Regions from separate parts of the Homo sapiens genome. Here all the other regions are linked to region 3. The links are contacts of gene promoters, found by promoter capture Hi-C in human tissues and cell types (Jung and others, 2019). All regions are on one chromosome and are shown on one strand. The core of a region is centred on a gene start or on the middle of the fragment in contact, and the rest is flanking DNA. Distances in the headings are between cores, read along the strand shown. Region 1 has its middle 30 kb from the start of ALOX12. Region 2 overlaps CLEC10A (C-type lectin domain containing 10A). Region 3 holds the start of BCL6B (BCL6B transcription repressor).

Evidence for each region. The method cuts DNA at HindIII sites, captures the fragments that hold promoters and counts their contacts. A contact is called where the count stands out against the background at its distance.
Region 1: a contact is called between a fragment that was not itself captured here and the fragment with the promoter of BCL6B in region 3, in 1 of the 25 tissues and cell types used here (neural progenitor cells).
Region 2: a contact is called between a fragment that was not itself captured here and the fragment with the promoter of BCL6B in region 3, in 1 of the 25 tissues and cell types used here (liver).

What each region holds. Positions count from the first base shown.
Region 1 is chr17:6,963,734-6,968,019 of GRCh38, forward strand. No RefSeq gene overlaps it. Among named protein-coding and RNA genes, the nearest start is that of ALOX12, 30 kb to the right of the region's middle. The HindIII fragment of the contact is 6,098 bases long and covers 1-4,286 here.
Region 2 is chr17:7,071,354-7,075,867 of GRCh38, forward strand. CLEC10A (C-type lectin domain containing 10A) reads right to left here. Exons shown (of 9, transcript NM_001330070.2): 7 at 4,378-4,514; 8 at 4,007-4,113; 9 at 3,184-3,869. The coding sequence ends at 3,701. Among named protein-coding and RNA genes, the nearest start is that of CLEC10A, 6.6 kb to the right of the region's middle. The HindIII fragment of the contact is 4,659 bases long and covers 1-3,921 here.
Region 3 is chr17:7,021,132-7,025,401 of GRCh38, forward strand. It overlaps BCL6B (BCL6B transcription repressor), which reads left to right and starts at 1,919. Exons shown (of 9, transcript NM_181844.4): 1 at 1,919-1,968; 2 at 2,529-2,719; 3 at 2,952-3,173; 4 at 3,270-3,632; 5 at 3,945-4,069. The coding sequence starts at 2,541. RefSeq lists a silencer at 873-1,012. The HindIII fragment of the contact is 11,810 bases long and covers 1-4,270 here.

The sequences.
Region 1 (4,286 bases), core at 1,347-3,846, 57 kb before region 3:
AAAAGAATAATACACCATGATCAAGTTAGATTTATTCCTGGGATGCGAAAATGGTTCAAAATACACAAATCAATAAATGTGATCCATATTACAGTAACAGAATGAAGGATAAAAATGATCATCTCAATAGATACAGAAAAGCATCTGACAAAACTTAGCATCTTTTCATGATAAAATCTTTTTACAAATTAAGTACTGAACAATGTAACTCAACATAAGAAGGCCATACATGACAAGCCCACAGCTAGCATCATACTCAACAGTGAAAGTCAAGTTTTCCTCTAAGACCAGGAACAAGACAAGGATATCCATTCTCACCACTTCTATTCAACATAGTACTAGAAGGCCTAGCCAGAGCAATTAGGCAAGAAAAAGAATGAAATGGCATCCAAATAGAAAAGGAAGAAGTTAAATTGTCTCATTTGCTAACATGATCTTATATGTAGAAAACCCTAAAGATTCCACCAAAAAAACTGCTAAAACTAATAAATGAATTCAGTAAAGTTGCAGGATACAAAAACCAACCTACAGTATCAGTAGCATTTCTATACCCTGACAACGAACTATCCAAAAAAGAAATTAAGATAACAATTCCATCTACAATAACATCAGGAAGAATAAAATACTTAGGAATACACTTAAATAAGGAGGTGAAAGACCTATACACTGAAAACTATAAAACATTAATGAAATATATTGGAAAGTCACAAATAAATGGAAAGATATCTGCAGGACAGTTATTTAGGGAGGAGGTAGACTTGCACTGACTTAGTTCTTCCCCTTTCTTGCTTGTAGTTCCCAAGAATAACTATAAAATGTGCTGGGAATTCGCCATCCTGAGATAAGGAGTTGGCCAGAATAGCCCAGGCTCTATTCCAGTCTCCCCTAGAAATAAGATGTCCTTCAGTGATTTAGCCCAGTATGTCACATACCCCAGGGTATTAAAAAAAAGCCAGCCAGGTGCAGTGGCTCATACCTGTAATCCCAGCACTTTGGGAGGCCAGGAGTTTGAGACCAGCCTGGGCAACAGGGCGAAACCCCATCTTTACTAAAAATACAAAAATTAACCAGGCCTGATGGCACACTCATGTAGTCCCAGCTATACAGGAGGCTGAGGCAGGAGAATCCCTTGAACCCAGGAGGCGGAGGTTGCACTGAGCCAAGATCATGCCACTGCACTCCAGTCTGGGCAACAGAGTGAGACTCTGTCTCCAAAAAAAAAAAAAAAAAAAAGCCAGGGCAGGCTGCTTTTTTTGAGGAGGTCCCTCAGCTGCAATGCAGGTGGAGCATGCACATATGACACTCCATCCACCACAAGCAGTTTTCCAGAGACTCCGGGAATGCTTGCAATGAACACTGGGTTTCTGTTGTCCCTTGCTGCCTATCTGTAGGTAATAAATCCACTATATTTAATTTGCTGCGTATAAGTGTGTTCAGTCTTACTGGACTCAGGGAAGTTGGTAATCAGTGCACAGTAAACCTATTCCACAAAATCCCATGTCCATGAATAGGAAAAATCAATATTATCAAAATGTCTCTACTACCCAAAGTGATCTAAAGATTCGCTGCAACCCCTTTCAAAATTCCAATGGCATTTTTCACTGAAATAGAAAAAAGAAATCCTAAAACTTGTATTGAGCTACAAAAGACTTCTAATATCTAAAGAAATTGTGAGCAAAAACAAAAGAGCTGAACATAAACATTAAAAAAATGAAATTAGACCTTATTTATAACATACACAAAAGTCAACTCAAAATGGATTAAAGACTTAAATGTAAGACCTGAAATCATAAAAATGTTAGAAGAAAACATACAGGAAAGCTCTATGACATTGGTTTTGACAATAATTTGGGGGGTCCATCAAAATCCATATCCATTTTTGGATATGGTACCAAAAGCACAAGCAACAACAGCAAAAATAAATAGAATTATATCAAACTAAAAAGTTTCTACACAGCAAAGAAAACAATCAACAAAATGAAAAGGCAACCACAGAATGGGAGAAAACATTTGCATACCATGTATCTGATAAGGGGTTAATATTCCAAATGTATAAGGAACTCATACAACTCAACAGCAAAAAAAAAAAAAAAAACCTGATGTTTAAAGTGGGCAAAATACCTGAATAAACATTTTTCCAAAGGAGACATACAAATGCCCAACAGGTATATAAAAAGGTGTTGAACATCAGTCATCATCAAGGAAATGCAAATCAAAATCACAGTGAGACATAATCTCATACCTGTTAGCATGAGTATTATCAAAAATTCAAAAATAACAAATGTCGGTCAGGCGCGGTGGCTCACGCCTGTAATCCCAGCACTTTGGGAAGACGAGGTGGGCAGATTACCTGAGGTCAGGAGTTCGAGACCAGCCTGGCCAACATGGTGAAACCCCGTCTCTAGTAAAAACACAAAAATTAGCTGGGCATGGTGGCGGGTGCCTGTAGTCCCAGCTACTCAGGAAGCCGAGGCAGGAGAATCGCTTGAACCCAGGAGGCAGAGGTTGCAGTGAGCTGAGATCATGCCATTGTACTCCAGCCTGGGCAACAGAGTGAGACTCTGTCTCAAAAAAAAAAAAAAAAAAAAAAAAAAAAAAACAAGGGATGCAGGGAGGGGAAAATGAGGAAGTGGTAATTACAGAGTACGAAGCTTCAATTATGCAAGATAAATAAGTTCTGGAAATCTATTATATGGCATACCGCCTGTAGCTAACGATGCTGTATTTTGTACTTAAAATTGCTAAAAGAGTAGATTTTATGGTAAGTGTTCTTGCCAAAAAAAAAAAAGAGCCACACATCATCATCATCATCATCATCATTATCACAGAAGGGGACAGGAGGAAACTTTGGGAGATGACGATGGGTTTGATGGTAGTGTTGGTTTCACAGGCATATATTTAACTGCAAATTCATTGATATGTGATAATTAAATAGGAATAGCTTTTCATATCAATCATACCTGAATAAAAGTAGTCTAAAGACTTCAGTATTAACTTCTCATTGAAAACTCCCCTGACTCTTCCAATCTCTGTGCTCCTAGGCTTCAGTCAGGATTCTTTTTTTTTTTTTTTTTTTTTTTTTTTTTGAGATAGAGTTTTGCTCTTGTTGCCCAGGCTGGAGTGCAATGGAGCAATCTCAGCTCACCACAACCTCCGCCTCCCAGGTTCAAGTGATTCTCCTGCCTCAGCCTCCCGAGTAGCTGGGATTACAGGCGCCCACTACCACGCCCGGCTAATTTTGTATTTTTAGTACAGACGGGGTTTCTCCATGTTGGTCAGGCTGGTCTCAAACTCCCGACCTCAGGTGATCCACCCGCCTCGGCCTCCCAAAGTGCTGGGATTACAGGCATGAGCCACCGCACCTGGCCATGCCAGTCAGGATTCTTACACATTTTATTTGTGTTTTCACTGCAAGGCTTCTTTTCCCAGTAGACAGTGGGTCATAATAATAGTAGTTATTATCATACACTAAACCAGTGCTTACTAGTTACTATTCCGATCATTTCACTTGTATTGACCTTTAATTTTCGCAAAAATCATTCAGGGTAGGTACTTTTCTTCACAATTTACAAATGAAGCAACTGAGGCACAAAGATGAAATAACTTTCCCAAGATGACACATCTAGTAATAACGGAGACAGAATTGCAAACACGGGTGGTCTGGATCCATGGTCTGCGCTCTCAACAACTACTCTACGCACAACAGCTTCTCCACACAAAGTGCTGCGTGCTTGGCTGCAACCGCTGCCTAACGTCATTTTAAGGTTTGCCAAATGTATTTGTCTAAAGAATGCATTTTAAGTTGTAATACATCGATGAAAAGTCAACAAGGATTCAAGATATGTACTATATGGCTGAGTTTTAAAAGGAAAAAAAGAATAAAAAACTATAGAAAGGAGGGAAAGAGGAAGAGAAGGAAGAAGGCAAAAGAAGGATAGAGGGATAGAGAGAGGAAGATAGAAAGAAAATAAAACTGGTTTCAAAGTCACAAGAAATGACCAAAATTGAAAATTGAAATTCTACAGAATACTGAGAGACGTTGACACATAAATAAATAATAAAGAAGTACACCATGCCCATGGAGCAGAAGACTCAGTATAGTTGAGATACCAATTTTCAGCCAGGCGTGGTGGCTCATGCCTGTAATCCCAGCACTTTGGGAGGCCGAGGCGGGCGGATCACCTGAGATCAGGAGTTCAAGACCAGCCTAGCCAACATGGTGAAACCCTGTCTCTACAAAAATACAAAAATTAGCCAGGCATGTTGGCGGGTGCCTGTAATCCACT
Region 2 (4,514 bases), core at 342-2,841, 50 kb after region 3:
GGTTTCACCATGTTGGCCAGGATGGTCTTGATCTCTTGACCTCACGATCCGCCTGCCTCAGCCTCCCAAAGTGCTGGGATTACAGGTGTGAGCCACTGCACCCGGCCCAATTTTTTATTTTTAGTTGAGACGGGGTTTCGCCATGTTGGCCAGGCTGGTCTCGAACTCCTGACCTCAGGTGATCCATCCACCTCAGCCTCCCAAAGTGCTGGGATTACAGGCGTGAGCCGCCGCACCTGGCCTGTCATACCTTTTCTAAGATCATGTTCCTTCTCACTCTCTAAGCACTTGAGATCTTCATACTTCATTGACATCCTTGGCCCAAGTGGTCTCTGTGGCTGCAGGAGCTGAGATGGAGGCAGAGAAAGGGCTCCGAGGGGGAGCCTGAAATAAGGGCTGGAGGTGGGTGTGGAGCTGGTTTTGAGGTAGGAAGTGAGGATTCGATAGTGGCTGAGCCAGGCGTGAGAACTAGGAATGTGGCTGGGGGCTGGGTTTGCAGGTGAGGTTGAAACAGCGATCACAATTGGGGTTGTATCTGGGGTTAGGATGGGGTTGACTTACTTGGGGCTAAAAATCAGATTGGGTCTCAGGCTAAGATTGTAGACAGGGCTCCTTTGGAGTTGGGTCTGAGTTTGGGGCTGAGATTGGAAACATGTGGGATGGAGCATGGGGGTGTAGTACAGCTAGGCTGGAGCTGCAGTGGGGACAGAGATTGAATTTAGGGATGAATTTAGAGCCGACATTGGGACTGCAGTTGGGGCTGGAACTGGGATTGTATTGGTTTGGGGCTGTCCAACCCAATCTGGAAGTCAGTGGAGAGATCATTTCAATCTCCTCCAATAACTAGTTCAATCTGTGATCCATCTTCCCAGTTATTTCCACCTATAACACAAAGTCGCCCTCTCCATATTTTCCCTAATGCCCTCCCTGCCTCCGCCGTCCAGTTACCTGTACAAAACTAGAGAATGTAATTGTTTGCTTTCTTAGGTAGCAGAATTACCAGGTCAGGAAATTCTAGAGGGAACTGACTTGTATTGGTTCTCCTGCTCCCCTCTACATTCTGTGGCCCTGGTAGAACTGTGATCTCACGCTCCTGCTGGGTGGCTTCTCTCCCATGATCCAAAATCTTTCAGACCCAGGGGAGAGAGGCACAGAGCTGCTTGGGTGGATGATCTGGGTGGATGTTCTTTACTTTTGTGCCTTCAGGCTTCAGAGTGGTGATGTCTCTGCTATTCTTAGCCACAGGGACTTCACCAACTTTTGTTGGCTTCCTCAACCCTGCTCACACTCTGTAAATGTCATTAAACTCTTTTCAATAAACCCTTTTGTGGCCAAGCACTGCAGCTCATACCTGTAATCCTAGCAGTTTGGGAGGCCAAGGCAGGACAATCGCTTGAGCCCAGGAGTTTGAAACCACCCTGGGCAACATAGTGAGACCCTATCTCTACAAAAAATAAACTTAGCCAGGCATGGGGGCACACATCTATAGTCTCAGCTACTCAGGAGGCTGAGAAGAGAGGATTGCTTGAGTCCAGGAGTTCAAGGCTGCAGTGAGCTATGATCGCACCACTGCATTCTAGCCTGGGTGACAGAACAAGAACCTGTCTCTCTATATATATATGTAGAGAGAGAGAAAGAGAAATAAATCCTTTGGTTTTGACACCTGTATCTTGCTGGAACTGATTAAAAAAAAACCCTTTGAATAAAATTATAAATGTTTACTATGGTACACAGAAAAATAAAAAAGAATAAACTCCATTTGGAAGTCTAACAGGCTCCTCAAACTCAACATGTTCAAAATAAAGCTTCTTATCTCCTCATCCCACCCACAAAACCAGCTTCTCACACGGTCTTCCCATCTTAATTAACTGGGACTCCATCCTTCTAGGTTTTCAAGCCCCAAACCTGGAATTATCCTTGACTTTCTCATTTTCCCAAACCCCTCAGACAACCCATCAGCAAATCCTGACAGCTAATTCAGACATTCCTATATGCCAGGGAGCTTTCTGGGTACAGTAATACAGCAATGAATGGGTCCTGCCATCCCTTAATGAACTTAAAAAGTTGGTTCTTAATAGCTGAAATGCAGCTGGGTGTGGTGGCTCATGCCTGTAATCCCAGCACTTTGGGAGGCCGAGGCGGGCTGATCACCTGAGGTCGGGAGTTGGAGACCAGCCTGACCAACCTGGAGAAACCCCATCTCTACTTAAAACACAAAAGTAGCCAGACATGGTGGCAGGCTCCTGTAATCCCAGCTACTCGGAAGGCTGAGGCAGGAGAATCACTTGAACCTGGGAGGCGGAGGTTGCAGTGAGCTGAGATGACGCCATTGCACTCCAGCCTGGGCAACAAGAAGGAAATTCCCGTCTCAAAAAAAAAAAAAAAAAAAAAAATCAAAATAGCTGAGATGCTTCCCTGGTATATGCTGGATTGATTGAAAAAACAGAAATCTCCACCCCTCTCTATATCCATTCTCTACACAGTATGACTTTGTAGACCCCCCCCCAACCCCCCACCAAAATGTGGAATCTATTTCTCTGGCCCTTGAACCTGGGCAGCCTTGCAATCTGCTTTGGCCAATAGGATGCAGCAAAAACGATGCTTCAGTTCCAAGCAAGGCTCTGAAGTCCTTGCAGTCTTCCAATTTCTCTCTTGGACCCCCACCCAGCCATTCTGTGAACAAGGCCAGGCTAAGCTAATGTGGCCCAGTCATCCCCATTGTCCCAGCCCAGAGCCAGCCAAATATGAGACATGGGAGCAAGGCTACCCTAGACCAGCCAACCCCAAGCCAACCCACCAGCTGACCACGGACGCATAAACAAGCCCAGCCAAGATGACCCAAACCTGGCCAGACCAGACCTATAGCCTCATGAGCTATAATAAATGCTTACTGTATAAGCCCTGAGCTTTGAGGTGGTTTGTTACACACCAATTGCTAACCAATACACCTGGGGATCTTATCTACATCTCCCAACAACTCTGGGATCTTCAGAGAAATTAAACAATGGCTTTTCCTAATCACCCTAAGTTTATACCATCTTTAAGTGACAGAAAAGATTTGAACTCAAATCTATATGAGAAGAAAATGCTATTTTCTCAATCACATAGGACTTTCGAAGGCTTCACCTGGCTTCTCCACTCTGCCATTTTTAGATTGCCAAAAATCAAGCAACACAAAGTACGTAAGTTCTCACGAGAGTATATATTCACTTATATGAAGTATATACACGAGAGTGTATGATTTCACTTATATGAAGTTCTAGAAGCTCTAGAAGAGGCAAGGCCAATAAATAGTGAAAAAGAAGTAGATCACTGGCCTGGAAACAGGGAAGTGGTTGGACTGCCCAGAGGCATGAGGGGACTGGTGGGGGCGATGGCAATGTTATCTATTGCGATCGGAGTGGTAGTCACCTAGGCATGCATATTTGTCAAAGTCATCTCTACTCTTTAAATGAGTGCATTTTTATTATGTAAAAATTATACCTTCATGAAGTTGACTTTCAAAAGTTGGAAAAAAAATAAAAGCTTAAGAACACTATACCATCTTTTTAAAATTAAAGAGAAAAAAATTCAAAATGTTAGCAGTGCTTCCAATCTCCCAGTGCTTATTTCTCTCCCAGAGCGGTCTTGCGAGGAGGTCGTGAGAAGAGTCCTCCTCCCACCGCCATTTCTGTGGCCGGGTGGTCCCACCAAAGGCAGCTCAGTGACTCTCCTGGCTGGTCTGACCCAGGCCAGCCTCGCAGACCCAGTGGTAGGGCCTCTGGCAGACGTCGTCATTCCACCTGCCGTCTGGATGGAAGTGAGCACAGTCCTCGCCTCCACCCAGCCCGTGCCCCTGCCAGTCGTCTGGCTGGCCTGGCTTCCAGTTCCTGAGAGGAAAAGACAACAGCAAGCTAGGAAGGGTAGATGGAGTAGAATTCAGTTCAGGGGAGGAGAGGCTGCCAGTCAGATCCCTGGGGGAAACGCTGACGGAGGACATTGGCACAGAAAGCCAGGGTGCACTCACTGGAAGCCGGTCGCATAGTCTGTTCCATCCACCCACTTCCAGGCTCCTTCAGGGTCACTGAGGCCCATCCAGGTGTATGCGGAGCCTAGATATTTCTGGACAAAATTCTGCGGTGACAGAAGGGCAGTGGTGACTTCTTCCCATCCCAGCCAACTCCTTAAACTAGTGATTCTCAACTTTAGCTCTTCGTTAAATCAACTGAGGAGTTTGGAGATGTTTCTCTGGATGCTCAGGCCTATTAAATCTCTGAGGGTGTGGCACAGATGACAGTCATTCTGGAAGCTCCCAGATGATTCCAATGTGCGGCCAAGCTTAAGAACCATTTCCCTAAATGGGACATGTCTTAGGAACTGAGTACCAGAAGCCCTCACCTGCTCCTCCCTGGAGTTGATGACCACCAGGTGGGCGTTCTTCAGCTGGCAGTACTTCTCAGCCTCGGCCCAGGACATCCCAGAGTGAGAGAACCAGTAGCAGCTGTCTTGGTGCTCCACCCAGTTGACAGGGCAGC
Region 3 (4,270 bases), core at 669-3,168:
GAGCACAATCTCCAAATTGTGGGTGTCAGAACCCCCAGAACTAATGTAACTTCCAAGTCAGCCCCATACCTGAAACTTACCATATAGGCCTCAAAGGCTGAATGCAGCCACCGGTGCTCACAATCAAATCAACACCCCATAATAAACAGACACCCCACAACTGATCAAATAATACTCCATCCTGATGCCAAAGGGAGAGCCCCTAGTCTAATTCTCATCTCCAAGCTGGGCAGAGACCTAAATAACCCTCACATGTCAAAGCCACCTCATCGTCCTGAATTTCCCAGTTCCCGGTTTCTCAGCTGTTCTTTCATGCATTCAAATAAAGACACACTCCGGTCTGAAGGGGAGGGCCCCGGGCCTGATATCCAGCCCCGTGGACCATGGTCGGCCATTCCTGGCCAACTGTACACTCTCCCCAGCCCAAATCCGGGGAGCTTCTGCCTTGCAGCTGGATTCAGCTCTAGCACCCCTTCTCCAAATGAGCTTTGCCTTGCCTGCCCGCAATGTCTCCCGAAACAAAATATGAGGGTGTGATCCATGCCCATCTCTCAGATCAGGGACTTCAAATTAGGGTGGTTAAGCCCCCTCCTGCCCTCTCTCCCTCCTCCTTGTTTTCCCTTCTCGTTTACCCCACCCAATTTTAATGTTCAATTAAAAGTCACCTCCAAAGACATCTGGGTAGCAGTGTCTAGCTTAATTCGAAAAGAAAACCCGGAGTTCCCAGGCTCAGGTCCCGCTTCTTGTCCCACCCATTCCCCTGGCTCCTAAAGCCCGCGATTTCTCACCTCGGGTAGGAACCCCAGCCTGAGGGGAAAGTCCCCTCGGTCTCCTAACTCTAGCTCCCTCCGCCCAGCCCTAGTCCCCTCCTAGGAGACAGAGGTGCAAAATAAACCCGCGCAAAGGGGAGGAGGCTAAAGGTTTCAGCCGCCCAGACCAAATGGATCCTGCGCCCGGGTCTGAGCGCACCCCAGGCCGGGTGGAGACGAGGGGCGAGGCGAGGCCAGTGCTCGGCCGCCCCCTCGTGGAAGGAGCCGCACATTGCCGAGCCTTGCCTACTTGCCGCGCTGGACCCCGGCGTCCCGCCAGCCTCCAAGCGTAGCCGACGGGCGGGTGCCCGAGGCCCTCGTGAGCTGGGATTGGGGGAAAGCAAGCGGGCTTTGGGCGGGAGTCCATCTCTCTGGATCCCTACAAGGACCCAGAAGAGAGTCGGGAGCGAGAGAGGCCGGACGCCTAGGTCTCCCGAGCGTCTCTCGCCCCTCCACCCCCACCTCGGGGCTTTCCCCACCTCCTCGAGGGGAAGCAGCTGGCGGAGCCGTCCGGTCGCAGGACAATGGAAGGAAACCAACTAGAAATCATATCCGCCCTCTCCGTACCCCGCCCGGCCAGAGCCCCCCTTTTTGTAGGCCCGGGTAGAGTAGCCTGTCATTCACACCACACCCTCCCCGTCTGAGACCCTACGGGAGCCCACTGTCGTCTGCCCAAACCTGCTGTCTCGTTGGGCTCCCCCTTTTCTCCCTTAACACAGTACAAGAGAGGGAGAGGGGGTTGCCGTATGCACTTTGTCCTGCAGCAAAGGTTGGCTCCTGGCAAACCCTCCCAAAAGCCAACACACCAATTTTCACTGGCCCAGGCCTTCCGACGACTCAGACTCCCGTATTGCCAACCTCGATATCCCTAACCTCCTCCCCAATTCCAATATCCCCGTCCTCGTGTCCACTTGCAGTGACCCAAGACCCCCTACGTTACGACCACCCCTTGTTTCTGAGGTCCCGCCCTCGAGACGGAGACCCCGCCCTGGACTCGCCATCTGGAGAGCGAGGGAGGAAGGAAGGATACAGACCCAGGCGTTCACCCCACCTCCACCCCCGCCCCCGACATCCCGGCCAGATAAAGGAGCCGAGGCCAAGAGGGGAGAGAGACCCCGCCCCCCTTAAGAAGAGAAGCCGCGGCCCCTGCAGGACGGGGGTAAGAACAAGAGACTGAGGGAGCCAGACTCCTGGGTCCCCCAAGAGGGTAGGAGCTTGTGTGGAGCTTGCCATCAGCGAGCCTGAGTCCCAGAAATTGGGCTAAACTAGGGATTGGGGACTAGATAGGAGTCGCAGAATTCCGTAGTTCGGGGAAGGGAGCCTCGGCTGGGATTTGGAGGTGTGTGGACGGCAGGCCGTGAGATCTCGAGGCAGGGTTGGACACCTGAGACACAGGCGCGCAGAGGGGAGTGGCGGTGCTGGAGGGGCACTGGGGGTCGAACCCAGGGCGATGGGCGCGGGATTCCCCACGCTCGCCAACGACGCCGCGGTGTGGAACCTTCAACTGGCTCCAAGCGCTGTGGGATCTGGAAGAGGCAAGGGAGCGAGGGTGTCGTAGAGGGCAGAATGAACAAGAAGAATTAGGAGGGAGGCTGCGTGTGCCGGGGCTAGGGGCTGGAAGTCCTGGCTCTAGTTGCACCTCGGAAGGAAAAGGCAAACAGAGGAGGGAAGGCGTCTTAGGACTGCCTGGATCCAGAGCACTTTCCACGGCCTCTACAGGCCTGTGTCGCTATGGGTTCCCCCGCCGCCCCGGAGGGAGCGCTGGGCTACGTCCGCGAGTTCACTCGCCACTCCTCCGACGTGCTGGGCAACCTCAACGAGCTGCGCCTGCGCGGGATCCTCACTGACGTCACGCTGCTGGTTGGCGGGCAACCCCTCAGAGCACACAAGGCAGTTCTCATCGCCTGCAGGTTCGAGGGGTGGGGCCTGGGGCGGGGCCAAATGGGAAAGGGGTGGGACCACAGGGCCGTTGAGAGGGAATCCGAAGCCAAGTCTTTCAGAAGCAGGAGGCGGAGCGTCCCAGAATTGGGGGCGGGGTGATAGTGAGGAGGCGGGACTTTTTCAGGGGGCGGGGCTTCCTGAAGCTGCGCATGTCTCCCTTGGTTCCCCAGCCCCCAAAGGACTTATCTGCTCTCTCTCTAGTGGCTTCTTCTATTCAATTTTCCGGGGCCGTGCGGGAGTCGGGGTGGACGTGCTCTCTCTGCCCGGGGGTCCCGAAGCGAGAGGCTTCGCCCCTCTATTGGACTTCATGTACACTTCGCGCCTGCGCCTCTCTCCAGCCACTGCACCAGCAGTCCTAGCGGCCGCCACCTATTTGCAGATGGAGCACGTGGTCCAGGCATGCCACCGCTTCATCCAGGCCAGGTGAGGGACCCTGGCTCGGCGTTCTCTGTGGGTGAGGTGTTAAGGGCAAAGGCAGAGTTTAGGAAATGGCACTAACGTTCATCACACTTTCCCCAGCTATGAACCTCTGGGCATCTCCCTGCGCCCCCTGGAAGCAGAACCCCCAACACCCCCAACGGCCCCTCCACCAGGTAGTCCCAGGCGCTCCGAAGGACACCCAGACCCACCTACTGAATCTCGAAGCTGCAGTCAAGGCCCCCCCAGTCCAGCCAGCCCTGACCCCAAGGCCTGCAACTGGAAAAAGTACAAGTACATCGTGCTAAACTCTCAGGCCTCCCAAGCAGGGAGCCTGGTCGGGGAGAGAAGTTCTGGTCAACCTTGCCCCCAAGCCAGGCTCCCCAGTGGAGACGAGGCCTCCAGCAGCAGCAGCAGCAGCAGCAGCAGCAGTGAAGAAGGACCCATTCCTGGTCCCCAGAGCAGGTACAGAGTCTAGAACCTCAAGAATTTGTCAGAGCTGGCCTCAGCTAGAAGACAGAGTCATTGGGCCTTGATGGTCAGGAGGAAGGGAGATAGGTGGTGGGTTTCAGAGACACTAGCTCACCTTAAGGAGCTGGCCAGAGACCAGGTTTATTCAGCAGGGTGGCACTTGGGCAGTACAATGGATGTGGCTCATTGGTCAACAATATTGGCTCACCCTGAGAGGGCAGGCCTTTGGCTCCAAATTTCCCAGGAGAGAACCCCCACCCCTCAACCGTACAATCTCTTTTAACCCTTTCCTTGCCATCTGCCTAGGCTCTCTCCAACTGCTGCCACTGTGCAGTTCAAATGTGGGGCTCCAGCCAGTACCCCCTACCTCCTCACATCCCAGGCTCAAGACACCTCTGGATCACCCTCTGAACGGGCTCGTCCACTACCGGGTAAGAGCCCCTCTTTCTTGGCTTTTCTCCCGTGACTGCTCCAGGCAAGTTTGTGCCAAAAACTCTCCCAGAAAGGCCTATTCCAATGGTTCCTAAACTTTATTACAAATTAGAATCACCTAGGAAGCTTTTAAACTCCCACTGCCCAGGTCACACTCCATAGATTAAAATATCTGGACATGGGACGAGTCATCAGTATTT